Regions from separate parts of the Homo sapiens genome. Here regions 1, 2, 3, 4 and 6 are each linked to region 5. The links are contacts of gene promoters, found by promoter capture Hi-C in human tissues and cell types (Jung and others, 2019). All regions are on one chromosome and are shown on one strand. The core of a region is centred on a gene start or on the middle of the fragment in contact, and the rest is flanking DNA. Distances in the headings are between cores, read along the strand shown.

What was found. The method cuts DNA at HindIII sites, captures the fragments that hold promoters and counts their contacts. A contact is called where the count stands out against the background at its distance.
Region 1: a contact is called between a fragment that was not itself captured here and the fragment with the promoter of CAPZA3 in region 5, in 1 of the 25 tissues and cell types used here (IMR-90 fibroblasts).
Region 2: a contact is called between a fragment that was not itself captured here and the fragment with the promoter of CAPZA3 in region 5, in 1 of the 25 tissues and cell types used here (mesenchymal stem cells).
Region 3: a contact is called between a fragment that was not itself captured here and the fragment with the promoter of CAPZA3 in region 5, in 1 of the 25 tissues and cell types used here (dorsolateral prefrontal cortex).
Region 4: a fragment that was not itself captured here is called in contact with the fragment with the promoter of CAPZA3 in region 5 in 1 of the 25 tissues and cell types used here (spleen).
Region 6: a fragment that was not itself captured here is called in contact with the fragment with the promoter of CAPZA3 in region 5 in 2 of the 25 tissues and cell types used here (dorsolateral prefrontal cortex and mesenchymal stem cells).

What each region holds. Positions count from the first base shown.
Region 1 is chr12:19,136,933-19,139,638 of GRCh38, reverse strand. All of the region lies in intron 3 of PLEKHA5 (pleckstrin homology domain containing A5), which reads right to left. Among named protein-coding and RNA genes, the nearest start is that of PLEKHA5, 8.6 kb to the right of the region's middle. The HindIII fragment of the contact is 4,345 bases long and covers 1-2,706 here.
Region 2 is chr12:18,424,245-18,427,214 of GRCh38, reverse strand. All of the region lies in intron 18 of PIK3C2G (phosphatidylinositol-4-phosphate 3-kinase catalytic subunit type 2 gamma), which reads right to left. All of the region lies in intron 2 of LOC124902891 (a long non-coding RNA gene), which reads left to right. Among named protein-coding and RNA genes, the nearest start is that of PIK3C2G, 160 kb to the right of the region's middle. The HindIII fragment of the contact is 5,095 bases long and covers 1-2,970 here.
Region 3 is chr12:18,254,398-18,257,097 of GRCh38, reverse strand. It overlaps a transcript of PIK3C2G not described here. Among named protein-coding and RNA genes, the nearest start is that of PIK3C2G, 5.8 kb to the left of the region's middle. The HindIII fragment of the contact is 4,949 bases long and covers 1-2,700 here.
Region 4 is chr12:18,448,498-18,451,361 of GRCh38, reverse strand. All of the region lies in intron 18 of PIK3C2G (phosphatidylinositol-4-phosphate 3-kinase catalytic subunit type 2 gamma), which reads right to left. Among named protein-coding and RNA genes, the nearest start is that of PIK3C2G, 190 kb to the right of the region's middle. The HindIII fragment of the contact is 6,030 bases long and covers 1-2,864 here.
Region 5 is chr12:18,736,710-18,739,559 of GRCh38, reverse strand. CAPZA3 (capping actin protein of muscle Z-line subunit alpha 3) reads right to left here and starts at 1,441. Exons shown (of 1, transcript NM_033328.3): 1 at 372-1,441. The coding sequence starts at 1,291. The coding sequence ends at 392. It overlaps PLCZ1 (phospholipase C zeta 1), which reads left to right and starts at 1,548. Exons shown (of 15, transcript NM_033123.4): 1 at 1,548-1,628; 2 at 2,051-2,199. The coding sequence starts at 2,189. The HindIII fragment of the contact is 1,043 bases long and covers 986-2,028 here.
Region 6 is chr12:18,400,698-18,403,713 of GRCh38, reverse strand. The region is part of intron 16 of PIK3C2G (phosphatidylinositol-4-phosphate 3-kinase catalytic subunit type 2 gamma); the gene reads right to left. Among named protein-coding and RNA genes, the nearest start is that of PIK3C2G, 140 kb to the right of the region's middle. The HindIII fragment of the contact is 4,316 bases long and covers 1-3,016 here.

The DNA.
Region 1 (2,706 bases), core at 190-2,689, 400 kb before region 5:
TTATTTTATTACTGGCTCCCCCACTAATTCAACTATAAAGTTCTTAAGAGTAGTGTCCATGTCTGTTTCATTCATAAAGCTTAAAGCACTTGGCACACAGTAAATATTCAATAAGCATTTGTTGAATGAATAATTAGATGGATGAATATGAAATTCCCAGCCTGAATCTATAAATAGCTAGATAGTCATTTAGGTAGCTGAGATAGGATAGGGGAGTGGGTTGTGTTTGCTTTTTGAGGGGAGTAAAAAGATAATGTCAGGAGTCCTTTGTGAAAGTCGGATTTTAGCCACCTGAAATGCTATGTCCTCTCAAGCAGCTCAAAAACCAAACCACCATTAATATGTCCACCTGGGGCTCCCCCTCCCACACCTACTCCTTTATTCCGGTCAAGGGTCTCATCATCATTCTTGTAGACACTCAGACACAAAGGCTTTGAGGAGCTTTTGACCTCTTTTTTTCTGTCAACCTCCTTGCTCAGCAAGACTCCTAAGGCCTGTCAGCTCGTCTTTAACATCTTTGATCAATGGCCTTTCCTTTCCATTCCCGCTGCCACAAACTTAGTTCAAGTAACTACCCAATTATGGCAACAGACTCAGAAATGGTCTCCTTGATTCCCACTTTGCTCCTGTCCAATCCATGCTGCCTGTATTGAAATCTCCCTAAAACCTTCATGTTGCATAATTAACGCTATACTAAAAAACATCTGCAAAGGCTTGCCCGGAAAATAAAAACCTCAGCCTGACATTCAAAGACCGGACACAGTATGGTTCCAAACAGCATTCCTAGACTCACCTCCCATCATCCTAGCATTTTCTACAGAACCATCACTAACAAGCCTAGTTAGTATTACTCATCACACATATTCACATATTATACGTGTTCCCAGCCCCATGAATGTATCCTCCCAGTCTTATCAACTCATCTGAAAGTGAATCCCATCTATACCCTCAGGCCTAGCTCAACTCCCACCTCTTCAAGTCGTTCCAGGGCAGCCCAGCCTAGGCTGCCTCTTCCTCCTCTGAATTCTTATGACTCAAACTAGCATCTTCTTTTTTTTTTTTTTTTGAGACAGAGTCTTACTCTGTCACCCAGGCTGGAGTGCAGTGGCGTGATCTCGGCCCACTGCAACCTCTCCCTCCTGGGTTCAAGCGATTCTCCTGCCTCAGCCTCCCGAGTAGCTGGGACTACAGGAGCCCGCCACCACACCCGGCTAATTTTTGTATTTTTAGTAGAGACAGGGTTTTACCATGTTAGCCAGGTTGGTCTCAAACTCCTGACTTCAAGTGATCCGCCTGCCTCAGCCTCCCAAGGTGCTAGGATTACAGGCATGAGCCACCATGCCGTGCCATTTTTTTACACCATTAACTCTAACTTACACATACACATATACACATAACTTTTCACCCTTAATTTCATCTTATATTTATCTGTTATTTAAAAAAATGAAACAGTCACAAGAAAAGAGCATCTGCTAACAAATTCAAAGAAATTCCATCCTGTATAGGACAGACAGGTCCTATGTAAGGCCCTGTCTCCAGGTCATCGACTCTTCAACTCTTCCAATACTTTTTGTGTTTTTGTATTGACCACTTCCTCCCCCTTCCTAAATATAGGCCAGCTTTGAGAATAAGAAGAAACGAAGGGGTCTATCCAGATTAGGGAAGAAAAAGTCCCTTGACAAATCCAGAAAGTGTTCTTAAAATGCAACCACTTGAGTTGTGGGGACTATTCTTTCCCCATCTTGATTAACTCCTTAAATAACTAGGAGCCAGCATCATCATCATCACAGATACCACTTCTTTAGAGGCTGACTAGATGCTGGGCATCACAGGAAATACAAGGAGGATATTGAGCAAACCTGGCCCTAAGCAGTGGTCCTGGGGCTAAAAATAAAAGAATTCCACAACAAAGTCTACTGAGGCTGGTAGTCCTGGCACACCAACTTGAAAACGAAAGAGACAACAACAACAAAAAGGCTATTGTGAGGATTATAGGAGTTTAATGCTATGCTGAAGTGCCTAGCACTAAATAAGTCTATGTTCCCCAAACCATCTCCCTGTTTTAATATACTGCATATTTATCTCTACACTACAAACTCCTTGAAAGCTGAGATCATAGTTCGTAGTTGTTTTGTAACTAATGAATTAGCATAAAGTGCTTTATCAATGTAAGGAATCACATATTAACAGTCCAAAACTCTTGTTATAAATATGGAAAAGAAATATAATGCCCACAAAGTGTTCTAAAGAATTATATAGCTCTAGTAATCAAAATTTGGTTATATTATTATAGAAAGTATAAAACAGTTTTTGGCCAGGGGTGGTGGTAATCCCAGCACTTTGGGACGCCGAGGTGGGCGGATCACCTGAGGTCAGGAGTTTGAGACCAGCCTGGCCAACGTGGCGAAACCCCTTCTCTACTAAAAATACAAAAAATTAGCCAGGCGTGGTGGTGGTGGGCACCTGTAATCTCAACTACTTGGGAGACTGAGGCAGGAGAACTGCTTGAACCCGGGAGGTGGACGTTGCGTGAGCTGAGATCATGCCAGCCTGGGCAACAAGAGTGAAACTCCGTCTCAAAGAAAAAAAAAAAGTAAAGTATAAAACAACTTTAAATATCAAATACATAGTTAATATATTCTAATGTTTTTTATGGCACTTGTTAGATTCCCCATCTTCATTCATATTTTGAATTGTGAAAATCTG
Region 2 (2,970 bases), core at 248-2,747, 310 kb after region 5:
TCTTTTATATATTTTATACTTTATATATTTTTATATTTTTGTTCAAATATTAAAATAAAAATTGTTATCTGGCTATGTTACTTTTTTAATATGTGTGCATTTTAATAATGCATGCAAAAAACAGTAAAGTTTTAAGGGAATTAAACATTGAGTTTAATGGAGTCTTACATTTAATATGACAGCAGAACACCACAAAGTGTATCCACTTAACTTTCCTTTGCCCCAAAGTAGCTTTCTGAAAAACTGAAGAAAATAAGACTTCATTCAGAGCTTTAATAAGAGTCTATTCATGGAAGGGCCTCATGCCAGTCAATGTATCTTATGTTTTATTATAATAACATGCTAGAGGAATTGTTCTGCTTTTTAAATTAGGCATTTAAAATGAAAATAAGCATCAAATCAAACAGTCTCCGACCAAGTTCCTGTGTATCTTCTTTGCTACATCTTCTTGAGTGATTTTCATGAGAAGAGTGATCTCATTATGAGTAACATTTCTTGAAGCAGAAAAATATGACACTCCAAAATGATATTGACTTGCTGTTTTCCTGTTATTTAGTGGTCTTAACTATCAATCAAAGCAACTAAATGATGCCTGTCATACATTCAGGAGAGTAAAACATAGATCTAATTTTATCCTTAGGTCATTGAAACTTATAATTGTTAAAACTTTGTCCTATGAAATTAAAATTGAATCAACAAGGTTAACAATACAAAGGAAAGTAGGAAGAACAGTATGCAAAGAATATTATGTTCAATAGAATCAAGTGTAGGTGATAATAGGATAAATCGTTTTTTGAAAACAGGATTGGAACCAAAATTTGTTTTTAATAAGTGAGTTTTTAACATTAGAAGGATTTTATTCTTAACTCTCAATTATATAATCACAAAAAAAAATCAATGTTTCAGGAAAACACACTTAATCCTAACATAAAATTCATGTCACTTATCACAAAGTTAGATAGTCAAGTGTATAAAGGAGAAACAAAACAGAAATAGTAATTTTAAACCACATGAGACATCGCAAAGAATTTTTTTTGTTAATAAACAACCCATAAATACTTTTACATACTACATTTCAAAAATGATGCATCTATGAATAATATGATAAAGGTCATAGTGTTGAAGACTTTAAATTCAAGGTCATCATGTTGAAGACTTGAAATTAAATTCAAGGTTGTAGTGATGAAAAATTCAAAGTCAAGGTCTTGATGACAAAGACTTTAAATCCAAGGATATATTGTGTAAGAAAGGACAAACCACTAGCATTCAAGTTATTTATCCAATTAGTTCTCTGTGAGTACAAAATATAAGAAATCACTACATGGATTGGCCTAATTAGAAATTTTATTTCATTTATAAATAACTCTTAACTTCAGGAAATCTTTTCACAGAATCATTCAGTCACATGGTATTTATCTACCCTTGTGTAGGTATTTCTGCTACACTTTAAATCCTTATTCAAAACAATTCTCTCTCCATTTCTCTATGTTTTTAAGTATAAAATATTTTAAAAGGAAGAAATGTCAGCTGGGCTTGGTGTCTCACACCTGTAATCCCAGCACTTTGGGAGGCCAAGGCAGGCAGATCATGAGGTCAAGAGATGAAGACAATCCTGGCCAATGTGGTGAAACCCTGTCTCTACCAAAAATACAAAAATTAGCCAGGCGTGGTGGTGTGTGCCTGTAGTCCCAGCTACTCGGGAGGCTGAGGCAGAAGAATCGCTTGAACCAGAGAGTTGGAGGTTGCAGTGAGCTGAGATTGCACCACTGCACTCCAGCCTGGTGACAAAGTGAGACTCCGACTCAAAAAAAAAAAAAAAAAAAAAAAAGAAATGTCTGTCCTTTAGCTAGAGAAAAAAAGCAACCCATTTCCTTCTTTACTTCAAAAACACAAAACAAACCAAAACAATCCAATTCCTAATGTAATGTCATACAGAACACAGGGCCTGGAACAATATTTCATTCTGGTTTTCCTGCTATATGCTGAGAATAATTTAGTTATTTACATTATTGAGAAATCTATTTAGCAGACTAGAATCATCCCAATGCTTCCATCAGCAGAAGGCTTGCTAAAAAAGGCACGAGCAGTGGCATCTACAAATGGGAACATCAAAGACTCTACTCTCTCTTTCTCCTCATCTTCTTCTGATTCATCCATATCTGCTGAATCATCATCAGCATCATCATTATCATTTTTTCTCCTCCCCCTCATCTTTCTCTTCCATCTCTTCATATTCATCAGGACCCATTTCCAATCATACTATAGACACCCTGAACGTTGGACATGCCATATGGAATTGGAGAATGGCAACATTAAAGATATTTAAAGTACAGGAAATGGTAGGTATAATACCCTTCCATATATCGTGGTGTTGTAGAGAATGTGGTACAGCTGCTCCAGTCATATACCCAGCCTGGGCTGATGACTGGAAATTCACAAGCTAATCCAGGTCCTTGAACTTCTTCTACTTCACCTTTAGCATTCGTTAGTCTCCACTAGCAACTGTCCAACTGACAAGCCTTCTCAGGAATAGCATCTTTTGACAATCTTAATTCGGTGTGTGAAGGAATAGTGGGGTTGATGTACAGAAGCTAAGTTCTGGCAGAAACTATGGGGAAACTGAAATGCTAATATCCTCAGGTGTTGCTATAGACATTCTGGCATCTTATGAATCAGTCTTATTTCTTCACTAATAATATTTCAAATTTATGCTTTGGGAAAAGTTTAGTGCTCTAGAAATTTTCAACAGAATGAGTATACATTAGCCTTTGAATTTTATGGTTTATAACTAATATTGCACAGAAAGTATTTTTATACCACATATTCTTCCAAAAACATTCAGTCTCATAACTAGATTTTACATTAAAATCTTCAAGGAGTAGATATACAAATTGCACTTGTCATTTAAAGCTACAAGAAAGGCATCATTCAGATTTGAAATTCTGTTTGGATTTAACTTCCTGATTAACA
Region 3 (2,700 bases), core at 24-2,523, 480 kb after region 5:
AAAGATTAAAGCATGCAATATTCTGGAACCTTTCCCTCTTTCTGATAGTTGTGTCAGGCATGGCAAAAGCTGTTTCCCTGAATCCAGAGACAGAAGTGACATATTGAGAACGGAAGAGTTGTCCTGCCAACAACAAGTAACCTACCACTTGATATTTAGTGAGACATAAATTTTTATCTAGTATAAAATGCTGTGTTTTAGGGTCTCTTTCTATGTTTTAATGACATCTAATCTTAAATGAAACATGACTTGGTTACTAGAAGTGTACTCTAGCATAATAAAAAAAATGAAGCTTTGGTCTAAGGATTGAGAGTGGGAGAGAACACAGATATTGCAGGCTAGAAAGTTAGTAATTCTCATTACTTTATGATAAAGCATTTCATAAAACTGTCATTTGCAATCCTTAAAAAGGGAGATTACTTGCCAGAAGAACACGTAACCTCTGTGAACTGCTGAGGAAGATTCTTGTGCAAAGTTCTGTGACAATACGTACTCGGGCTAGAGGTGACTCTAAAAAAGGAGGGCCGGCAGTAAATAGGCCTCTGACTTTTTCAAGTGCCCACATTAAAACCTCTCAGTTAATTGAAGTTCTTTATAGTTTCGAAGGTTAGGCTGAGAGTGATGCTTTCCTGCCTAAACTAATATTTTCAGGTAGCTTCAAAGTAGACACCCATAAACCGAAGGAGAGCAGAATGTGCTAAGCAAAGAAACCAGTAAATAAAAGAAGATAGTCTGCGTGCATAGCAACACTGCCTGGGTTAGGTCTTTGGGTATGATAATTTGCCCATGGATCTGACTGGAAGCAACTAGATCAAAAGCAGACTAAGGTTTTCAGAGAATTGCATTGACCTGCAGAAGCCAATCTGTGTTTGACTTAAAGTATCTCCCATGCCCCACTACTGGTTTTGCAGCATATACATCACAAAATATGCGCAGCTCCAAAGAGAGAATATTTTCTAGTTCTTTCTTACAAAATAATTACAGGGTAATTAAATACTTCTGAGAATAAAATGGATACATATTTAGAATAGATAATTCATTTATTGAATACTTACATTACACCAAAACAATGTTTTGGTTACTATAGCAGTAATGGACAAATAATCTCATAGAGAAATGAAAATAGGAACCATAAGTAATAAGGGACAATAAATTCCTCCAAGATAACATAATTCTTCCTCGATAATCATGGAAATTATTTCACTGCCATAGCAGAAGAGGTCAAAAATCTTGTCCAGTGGTATTTGATCATTGCCTTGAAAAATGACAGCTGTGCTTTTCCTCTTCTTGTATACCTGGATATTTGGGTAATTGACTGCAAGTTGTTCCACAGTATTTTTTACCGTCTTCTTTCCTGATGATGGCTAACTAGCCAAAGGCCATCTTTTCAAGCCTTTCTTTCAACTAGATGTGGGCACCTTACTGGTTGCAGTCAGTGAAATATGGAGAGGAACGATGCCTGATTATTCTAGTTGTGTTCTTAAAAGAATTATCTGTGCGCTCTCCTGTCTGCTCCCTCGCCCTCAACACACACACCATCAACCAGTTGGGAGATAGTGAGGAAACCTTGCGCTGAACATGGCAAAGCTGTATTATAGGTTCTCAGTGTCATCTTAGATATAAAAGAAAGAAAGTAAAAACACAAGTGAGAGAAATTTTGTCTTGTTTACACGGCTGCATTTTGGGTACTTTTGTTATAGAATTAGATCAAAACTGTATTAACTCCTACAGTAGCCATAAATTCAAGTAATTATTGTTCTTAAAAAGTTACTTATAGAAAATAGAATCAGAATAGACTCAAACTATTTCTTTTTTTCTTTCATTTATTTGTTTGTTTGTTTGTTTATTTATTTATTTATTTATTTATTTATTTATTTATTTTTGAGACGGAGTTTCACTCATTGCCCAGGCTGGAGTGCAACGGTGCGATCTCAGCTCACCGCAATCTCCACTTCCTGAGTTCAAGTGATTCTCCTGCCTCAGCCTCCCAAGTAGCTGGTCAGGCATGTGCCCGACTAATTTTGTACTTTTAGTACAGACGGGGTTTCACCATGTTGGTCAGGCTGGTCTCAAACTCCCAACCTCAGGTGATCTGCCCGTCTCAGCCTCCCAAAGTGCTGGGATTACAGGGGTGAGCCACTGCGCCCGGCCTGAGCCACTGAGCCCAGGCCTCTTTCTTTTTTTAAATTTTTAAGTGAAAATTTAAATTTTTTAAATTAAGAAATTATTATTATTATTATTATTTTGAGACAGAGTCTCACTCTGTCACCTAGGCTGGAGTTCAATGGTGCAATCTTGGCTCACTCCAACCTCTGCCTCCCGGGTTCAAGCAATTCTCTTGCCTCGGCCTCCCGAGTAGCTGGAGTAGCTGGAACTACAGGCACATGCCACCATGCCCAGCTAATTTTTGCACTTTTAGTACAGACTGGGTTTCACCATGTTTGCCAAGATAGTCTCAATCTCTTGACCTCATGATCCACCTGCCTTGGCCTCCCAAAGTGCTCGGATTACAGGTGTGAGCTACCACGCCCAGCCCAAACTGACTATTTTTAGGTGCAGGTCCAAAATGAGAATATTACAAATATTACAAAAACTTGATATTAAAAAATTATAATAAAATATATATGTTTATAAATAACTTTCCCCAGAGAATATGAAAATAAACAAGTCATCTATTGAATATTAATGCTACTAATCATT
Region 4 (2,864 bases), core at 173-2,672, 290 kb after region 5:
CATGAGTGAACTCCCACTCGCAATTGCTACAAAGAAAATAAAATACCTAGGAATATAACTTACAAGGGATGTGAAGGACCTCTTCAAGGAGAACTACAAACCACCGCTCAGGGAAATAAGAGAGGACACAAACAAATGGAATGAAATTCCATGCTCATGGATAGGAAAAATCAATATCGTGAAAATGGCCATACTGCACAAAGTAATTTGTAGATTCAATGTTATTCCCATCAAGCTACCATTGACTTTCTTAACAGAATTAGAAAAACTATTTTAAATTTCATATGGAACCAAAAAGGAGCCTGCATAACCAAGACAATCCTAAGCAAAAAGAACAAAGCTGGAGGCATCGTGCTACCTGACTTCAAACTATACTACAAGGCTACAGTAACCAAAAGAGCATGGTACTGGTATCAAAACAGATATATAGACCAATGGAACAGAACAGTGGCCTCAGAAATAACACCACACGTCTACTACCATCTGATCTTTGACAAACCTGACAAAAACAAGCAATGGTGAAAGGATTCCCTATTTAATAAATGGTGTTGGGAAAACTGGCTAACCATATGCAGAAAACTGAAACTGGGACCCCTTCCTTACACCTTATACAAAAATTAACTCAAGATGGATTAAAGACTTAAAATCTAAAACCATAAAAACCCTAGAAGAAAACCTAAGCAATACCACTCAGGAACATAGGCACGAGCAAAGACTTCATGACTAAAACACCAAAAGCAATTGCAACAAAAGCCAACATTGACAAATTGGATCCAATTAAACTAAAGATTCTGCACAGCAAAAGAAACTGTCATCAGAGTGAACAGGAAATGTACAGAAGGAGGGAACATTTTTGCAATCTACCCATCTGATGAAGGTCTAATATCCAGAATCTACAAGGAACTTAAACAAATTTACAAGAAAAAAGCAAACAACAGGCAGGACTGGTGGCTCACACCTGTGATCCCAGCCCTTTGGGAGGCTGAGGCGGGTGGATCACCTGAGGTTGGGAGTTCGAGACCAGCCTGGCCAACATGGTGAAACCTCATCTCTACTAAAAATACAAAATTAGCCAGGCGTGGTGGCACATGCCTGTAATCCCAGCTACTTGGGATGCTGAGGCAGGAGAATCACCTGAACCCAGGAGGTGGAGGTTGCGGTGAGCTGAGATTGTGCCATTGCACTGCAGTCCGGGCAATAATAGCAAAACTCCATCTCAAAAATAAAAATAAAAAACAACGCTATTAAAAAGTGAGCAAAGGATATGAACAGACACTTCTCAACAGAAGACACTTATGTGGCCAAAAAACGTGAAAAAAAGCTCATCACTGGTTATTAGAGAAATGCAAATCAAAACCATATGAGAAACCATCTCATGCCAGTCAGAATGGCGATCATTAAAAAGTCAGAAAACAGCAGATGCTGTCGAGGATGTGGAGAAATAGGAATGCTTTTACACTGTTGGTGGAGTGTAAATTAGTTCAACCATTATGGAAGACAGTGTGGCAATTCCTCAAGGATATAGGACCAGAAATACCATTAGTGGGTATATACCCAAAGGAATACAAATCACTCTGCTATAAAGACACATGCACACGTATATTTATTGCAGCACTATTTATAATAGCAAAAACTTGGAACCAACCCAAATGCCCATCAATGATAGACTGGATAAAGACAATGTGGCATACATACACACCATAGAATACTATGCAGCCATAAAAAAGAATGAATTCATGTCCTTTGCAGGAACATGGACGAAGCTGGAAACCATCATTCTCAGCAAACTAACTCAGGAACAGGAGACCAAATACCACGTCTTCACTCATAAGTGGGAGTTGAACAATGAGAACACATGGACACAGGGAGGGGAACATCACACATTGGGGCCTGTTGTGGGGTGCAAGGCAAGGGGAGGGAGAGCATTAGGACAGATACCTAATGCATGTGGAGCTTAAAACCTAGATGACGTGTTGATAGGTGCAGCAAACTACCATGGCACATGTATACCTACGTAACAAACCTGCATGTTCAGCACATGTATCCCAGAACTTAAAGTAAAATAAAAAAAATAATAAATAATAAAAATAAAAAAGAGTTATATGCAAACAAAGCTATAATGATCAAAGCAGTATGGTACTGGCATGAAAGCAGAGACATAGACCAATGGAACAGAATAGTGAGCCTAGAGATAAATGCAAGCATATATGGTCAAACTAACTTTAAACAATGGCACCAAGAGGACTCAATACACTGTTGGTGCAAATGTAAATTGGTACAACTATTATGGAAAACAGTATGGAAGTTTCTCAAAAAATTAAAAATAGAACTACCATATGATCCAGCAATCCCTCTTCTAGGTATGAACCCAGAAATAAATAAAGTCAACCCCTCGTAGAGATATCTGCAGTCTCACATTCATTGCAGCCTTATTCATAATAGCCAAGAAATAAAAACAACTTAAGTGTCCATCAGTGGTTGGGGAGGATGGATAAATTAATTGTGGTGGAGATATATCTCCACCACAATTATATATATATGTGTGTGTATAATATATACATATAATTTGTTTCAATATAAGATGTTTTCAATTTGTAACAATATTTCATTATATATATAATGATACAAAATATTATTCAGCCTTAAAAAAGGAAATCTTGCCATTTTCTACAACATGGATAAACTTAAAGGACATTACATGAAATAAGCCAGACACAGAAAGAAAAATACTGTACAATTTTACTTTTATGTGGGATCTAAAAGAAAGTCCAACACATAGCATGGTGGTTGTGGGATGTGGACAGGGAGAGGAAATGGGGCAATGTAGGTAAAGGGAACAGAGATGCAGTTGTATATGCTGCATA
Region 5 (2,850 bases), core at 192-2,691:
AGTTCGAAACAGTCAAAAGTCTCTCTCTCTCTCTCTCTCTCTCTCTCACACACACACACACACACACACACACACACGTACACACCCACACACAGCCTTAACCCTGGCCACCTCTATACTATTTCTGGAATCCCAGATTCTATAAAACTATTTTAGTTTCTAACAAATGTCTTGGTCTTTATGATGGTCACCACCATGAAACACAGTTACTTTACACTTTCTTGCCTTGTTCATAAATATTCCCCAAGTAAAATTACTTGCTACACTTTTCCCATTTAAATTTGCATTGGCTAAGTGAGAGACATCTCTACAGATTGCTCAATTTTAGGAAAATAACCATTCCCAAGAAACACAAACAAGTCAAATCAAGATAGTTACCAGGAGCAATTCTTTATATTATCCAGTTGCACAACACACTTCTTGAATAAATGACATATCCTAATTTAGGATACATCACCAGATTCAAGTCAGAGAGTATCCTGTGCCAGTCAATAAGAGTGCGGGTCACTGGAAGATCCCTTCGTAGAATTTTTCTCAGGGCTTCATTGGATAACTCCTGTAATTCTTCCAAGACTGCAGCTTGAAATTTGTTCTCTTGCTCTTCCACAAGCCTTGCAAAACTTAGAGCCAGTTGAGCTTGGTTAACTATTTCCAAGCTTTCTTTCAGGTCCTTGGATATTTCAATATGAAGGTTGACACACCTGAAGAAGTGAGCTTGCACAAATATTCTTCCCGTTACTTGGGTTAGAAATGGGTTAACTTGGAAAATCCATTTAGATTTCCAAAGTCCGTTCCAGCACTCTCCTGTTTCATAGTTGTGATCTTCAATGCAAGCTATCAAGTACTCCTTACTTTTGACAGTTTTTCTCAGCATGTTGCAATTTCCTTTTGGATAGTGGTCATTCACATACAGTTTTAAGGCGCACAGAAGAACAACTCTCAGGTATTCTGCCTCATTCTGAATGATACCATGACTTTGGATGTCTTTCAGCTGATTTTGAAGCAGGTCATATTTGAAAGAAAGTTTGCTTTGATGGTCAAAAAATCGGTAGTCGCCCATTACATTGTGGTGAGACAAGAGTACTGGATTTCCATCGATGCAGAGTGGTACAGAATATTTTTGGCAGTGTTGGTGGCCTGCACACTCACCTTGGTGGTGCATAAGTTTTTCATCACGGATAAGCAGACAGAGATCATCAAAGGCATTTACAAATTCCCCTGGAGGGGCCTGTAATAACAGTCTGCGAATTACTCTTTCCTTGTCCTTCCTGCTCAGCACGCTAAGTGTCATGTTTGGTTGCAACAGAAGCAAAGCTTCTGAAATGAGGAGTGTTCAAAGGATAAGAAAACATTCCATGAGCCACCTTTCCCATCAAGGTGTTAACATTCAAGCTGAAGGTTTTTATGTCTATCCATGAAAGCAGGCAGTCTGGCAAGGTCTGAGCCTCCTGATGAGGTCATAAGAAGCTTTCCTTGTGAAGTGTGGAACCTCTGATGATATCACAATGGGAATTCAGACCAAAAGGAAAAAATGACAGTCACCTGACAGTGTGGTGCCCAGCCAACCAGCTATACCTCTTTTGAAGATTTTAAGAACTTAGCCTCCTGAACAGTCTTCTTCGAAAGTGGTGTGTCTCTGTGTGCATTATATGTTGTCAACGATCTAGAGAAGCAGCCCAAAGTTTCAAGAGTGACAGCACTTTGCAACTTCAGGAATCACAATGGTGTTGATTTATACTCAGGCTCTCAGAGTAGCTGCCCAAACCCACTGGAAGCATATTATGATGAAAGGTTTGAGGGGTTTAAACAAAGTAGTAAAAAATAAAAGGAGATACAATGGCAGTTCATGGAAAAATGCCAGACATCAGGGAAAGCTGTGTTTTCAAATATTGTGGGTTTGGAGGTGGTCAGAACGTAAGAAGCCAAACAGTTTCAAGGGCAGGGTAGTGCAGGTACCACATCTTGCATACTGTTTCTATGGTTAAGTGTGAGCTAGCTTCAAAGAACGAAGGCAAAAAAAACCACTGTGTGTTCTCTGCTTTCTCCCTAGAAAAGTGGTAACAGCTGATGAGTATCAAGAAATTATTTTCTGCAAAGGGGCAGAGTTAATTGTATTTGGAACCCATGACAGCACCTACTGGGGAAAGACTTCTAAGTGAGGAGAAACGGCTCTACAGGTCATGAAACTATGGAAATGAGATATCCATTGAGAGCTTCTTTCTGCTCCTCTTCTTCTTTCTCCTACTTATCCTCTTTACTTGATGCTGTTATTCTTTTCGAGGAGTTCTGAATTTAAGTCCTCTTCATTTAAGTTGAACTGCTTTTCCCTGTTTGTTCTGAGCTTTTCTAACTTTCCCTGCATTCTGGTATCTTTTTCTTACAAGAACATGAGCTTTGCTGGATTAAGTCATAACTATTAAATTTAAGGAGATCTCATTAATTCGTTCTAACAATCTGAAACTTAGTAGTTTTGCACAATTTTTACCTATACCTTTTATAATTTTAGTGATAATTGTCATTATCTCATTTCGATCTTAGTTTTTCAAATGGAAGTGTCCTAGTTTTTGTAGTTTATCTATGATAAGTAAGCTTTTAAAAATTTTTTTCGTTTTTCATACCAAATATACACTCACCATGGTATTTCTGATGCTTTTTGATGGTACTGTCTTGAGTGTGTGTGTAGCTGGGCATTGGACTAATGTAGTAATAATAACTTTATCAGTCATGGTTACTATTTATTGAACACTAAGTAGCAGAAACTGTGTTCGGTGGCATATTAGGAATTCATCTAATGCTTCCACTTTCCTTAAGATTCAGGGTTAATTTGCTCACCTTTCTGGAAGAGAGAAC
Region 6 (3,016 bases), core at 96-2,595, 340 kb after region 5:
CTAGGTAAATTAAATTTCATCATGCCTCTTGCTAAAATTAAAGTAAAAGGAGATGGTGAACCTTTGGACAGATTAAGTAAATAGCAATATTAAAAACTCCCCAAGCTGGAAATGGAGCACACCAGTTGTCAAGAGGTTAAACCATTTAAAAAAATAGATTGTTCAAAGGAGGAAAAATATAGATCTCTCAAGTACTCACTCTGACAACTCACTTAATAAGCACATACTGTTTGTTCTCAGAAAAGTCAGCTTTTTAATTTAGAGGAGTTGAAAGGTTCATTTCTGGAAACAGCTTGTCCTCAAGTTTTTTAATAGTTCAGTAAAACTGAGAGTGGGAGTCAGAGGATGAGTACAATGGAAATACTCCAACATTTGCAGTGACCTTATTTGGTGCATGATAAGAAACTTTCCAGTGTGTAAATAAATCAGGATTCTACTAAGTTCCCTGAATGAAGTTTAATAAACACCTTCTACTTTAAAATCAGTCCCCATAACCTCTAAAAATCTGATTATTCAGAAAAAAAGAAATTACACAGTGAAGTAGAAACATCTGAGCATGACCGAGATCGCTAAGTGCTCCTATTTACAATTTTAAAAAACCGTTTAGGATAGCCAAGATATTTCATATGTAAATAGCCTAGCATGTTTATGCAGGAAGGCTTTAAACAGAATGGTTCAGATTATAAGCTCTCATGAATGCCTGGATTTGATTCCCAGGTTTTCAACTTACAGGGCACTTGAGGCAACATAACCTCTATAGGCCTCAGTTTCCTCATATGTAAAATAGGAATAATAATAGTATTTCCATCATAAGGTTGTTATGGATGTTAATATGAGATAGTACTAAGGGGCACTAAGTAAAAATTTTATCTGGACACATAAAACATTGAATGAGCCAAACAGATTTTGAAGATCTGTTTAGATAAAGAAGACTCACGAAGCATAATTCTGCTTAGTTATCAGGGATCAGAGGATATTGAAGTTCATCCAGCTAATCCTCTTATTTAATAAGTGAGTAAACAGAGCAGTATTACAATCTCATTCTATTAAAGATTTTTCTAAAAAATATTCCATGAACTTTAAACTTTGGAAAGTTATCTTGTTAGAAAATTATTCTTTAAAGATATTAGAGAGATTCATAGATATTACCTTCACAATTATTTTCTCAAAAATTTTAAACACCTTTACCACGATATTGAAATACCATACAATCCACCCCATTTAAAGTGCACAATTCAATGTTTTTAGCATGTTTCCAGATTTGTGCAACAATTATATCAATTATAACCACAAAAGGAAACCTCATACCCATTAGCAGTCAATCTCCATTTTCTCCCAACTTGCCCTCGCTCTGGGTTACTGCTAATTTACTTTCTGTCTGTAGAGCTTTGCCTATTCTGCACATTTCATACAAGTGGAATCATACCATATGTGGTCTTCTGTAACTGGCTTCTTTCACTTAGCATAATGCTGTCAAGGTCCTTCCATGTTGTAGCATATATCAGTATTCATTCCTTTTTATTATCAAATAATATTATGTTGTATGGATAGATCACATTTTACATATCTATTGATTAGTTGGTGGATATTTGGATTGTTTCTACTTTTTGGCTATTGTGAATAATGTTGTTACAAACATGCGTGCATGAGTTTTTGAGTGGGCATATTTTTAAATTTATCTTGAGTATATACTTCATAGTAAGATTGTTGGGTCATATAGTAACTCTGGGTTTAACACTTAAGAAACTGTCACACTGTTTTCCAATTGGCTACACAATTTTGCATTCCCACCAGAGGTAAATGAGGTTTCCAATTTCTCCATATCCTCATCAACACTTTTTATTTTTTGTCCTTTTTGTATCTTTTGATTATAGCCAGACCTAGTGAGTATGGTATCTTAGGTGTTAGGTGATTTTCATTTTTATTTCCTTAATGGCTAATGATATTGAGCATATTTTCATGTAAATGTTCGGCATTTGTGTATTTTCTTTGGAGAAATGCCCATGCAGAGCCTTTGTCCATTTTACAGTTGGGTTATTTATCTTTCTATTGTTGAGTTTTAAGAGTCTTTATATGTTTTGAATAAAATTTCCTTGTCAGATATTTATTTTCTCTTATTCTGTCAGTTGTGACTGTCACATTTTGAATGAATTCTCTATTAGTTAATCAACTCAAGAATGACAAAATAATAATTGTGCTAATAGCCCAAGTCTAACTTCAGCAAAAACCGGCTAGAATTTAGCATAACAATTTTACAGATTTTAGCTGTTCTTACATCTAAACCAGAAAAAGGGGTAGGATCATGTTGGGAATGAGACCTTTTTTCCAAAAGGATCTTTAAACACTAGCATGATGAATTGTGAATATCCCAATGAAACCAATCAATTGTTAATTACCACATGACTATTTTATTAACTAATGCAACTGCACAAAGTCATGTAGGAAATAAATAATAATGATAATATCCTCAAATTGCTTATAATTTAAAGTTAAACTACTGTAAAAATAATAATAATGCATCTTAGAAAGTGATTGGTTCAATACTGAGGAATTACTACGTCCTAGGTAATACTAAGCCTTCAGGAAACAGAAACATTGAGATGATCTGTTTTGCCTTGAGTAGCTCTGAGTCAGATGTGAGTGAAAATATACACATTTTACCTGTTGCATATAAACACATTACCATAAAATGCAATGTGTAAAGTAACAGAGCACTGTACTAGTCCAGGAGTGATCAATTCTACATGGCAAGGTCAGAGAAGACCCCACACAAGAAGGCTTACAAAAGAAAAAAGTTGCAAGCTCAAATAGAAACAAATATAAATATATATATTCCATTATATATATAAAGAAAGAGGTAGGCATCCGAGCACACATCAGTTAATGGAAGAAGCCATAAAACTAATAAAATCTTCAAAGTGAGGAGTACAAAAATAGTATGTAAATTTCGAGCTTGGGTGACTGAGAAGCTAGTAACTCTTACAAATAATAAGAAAAACCCACTCTCCCCTTTACC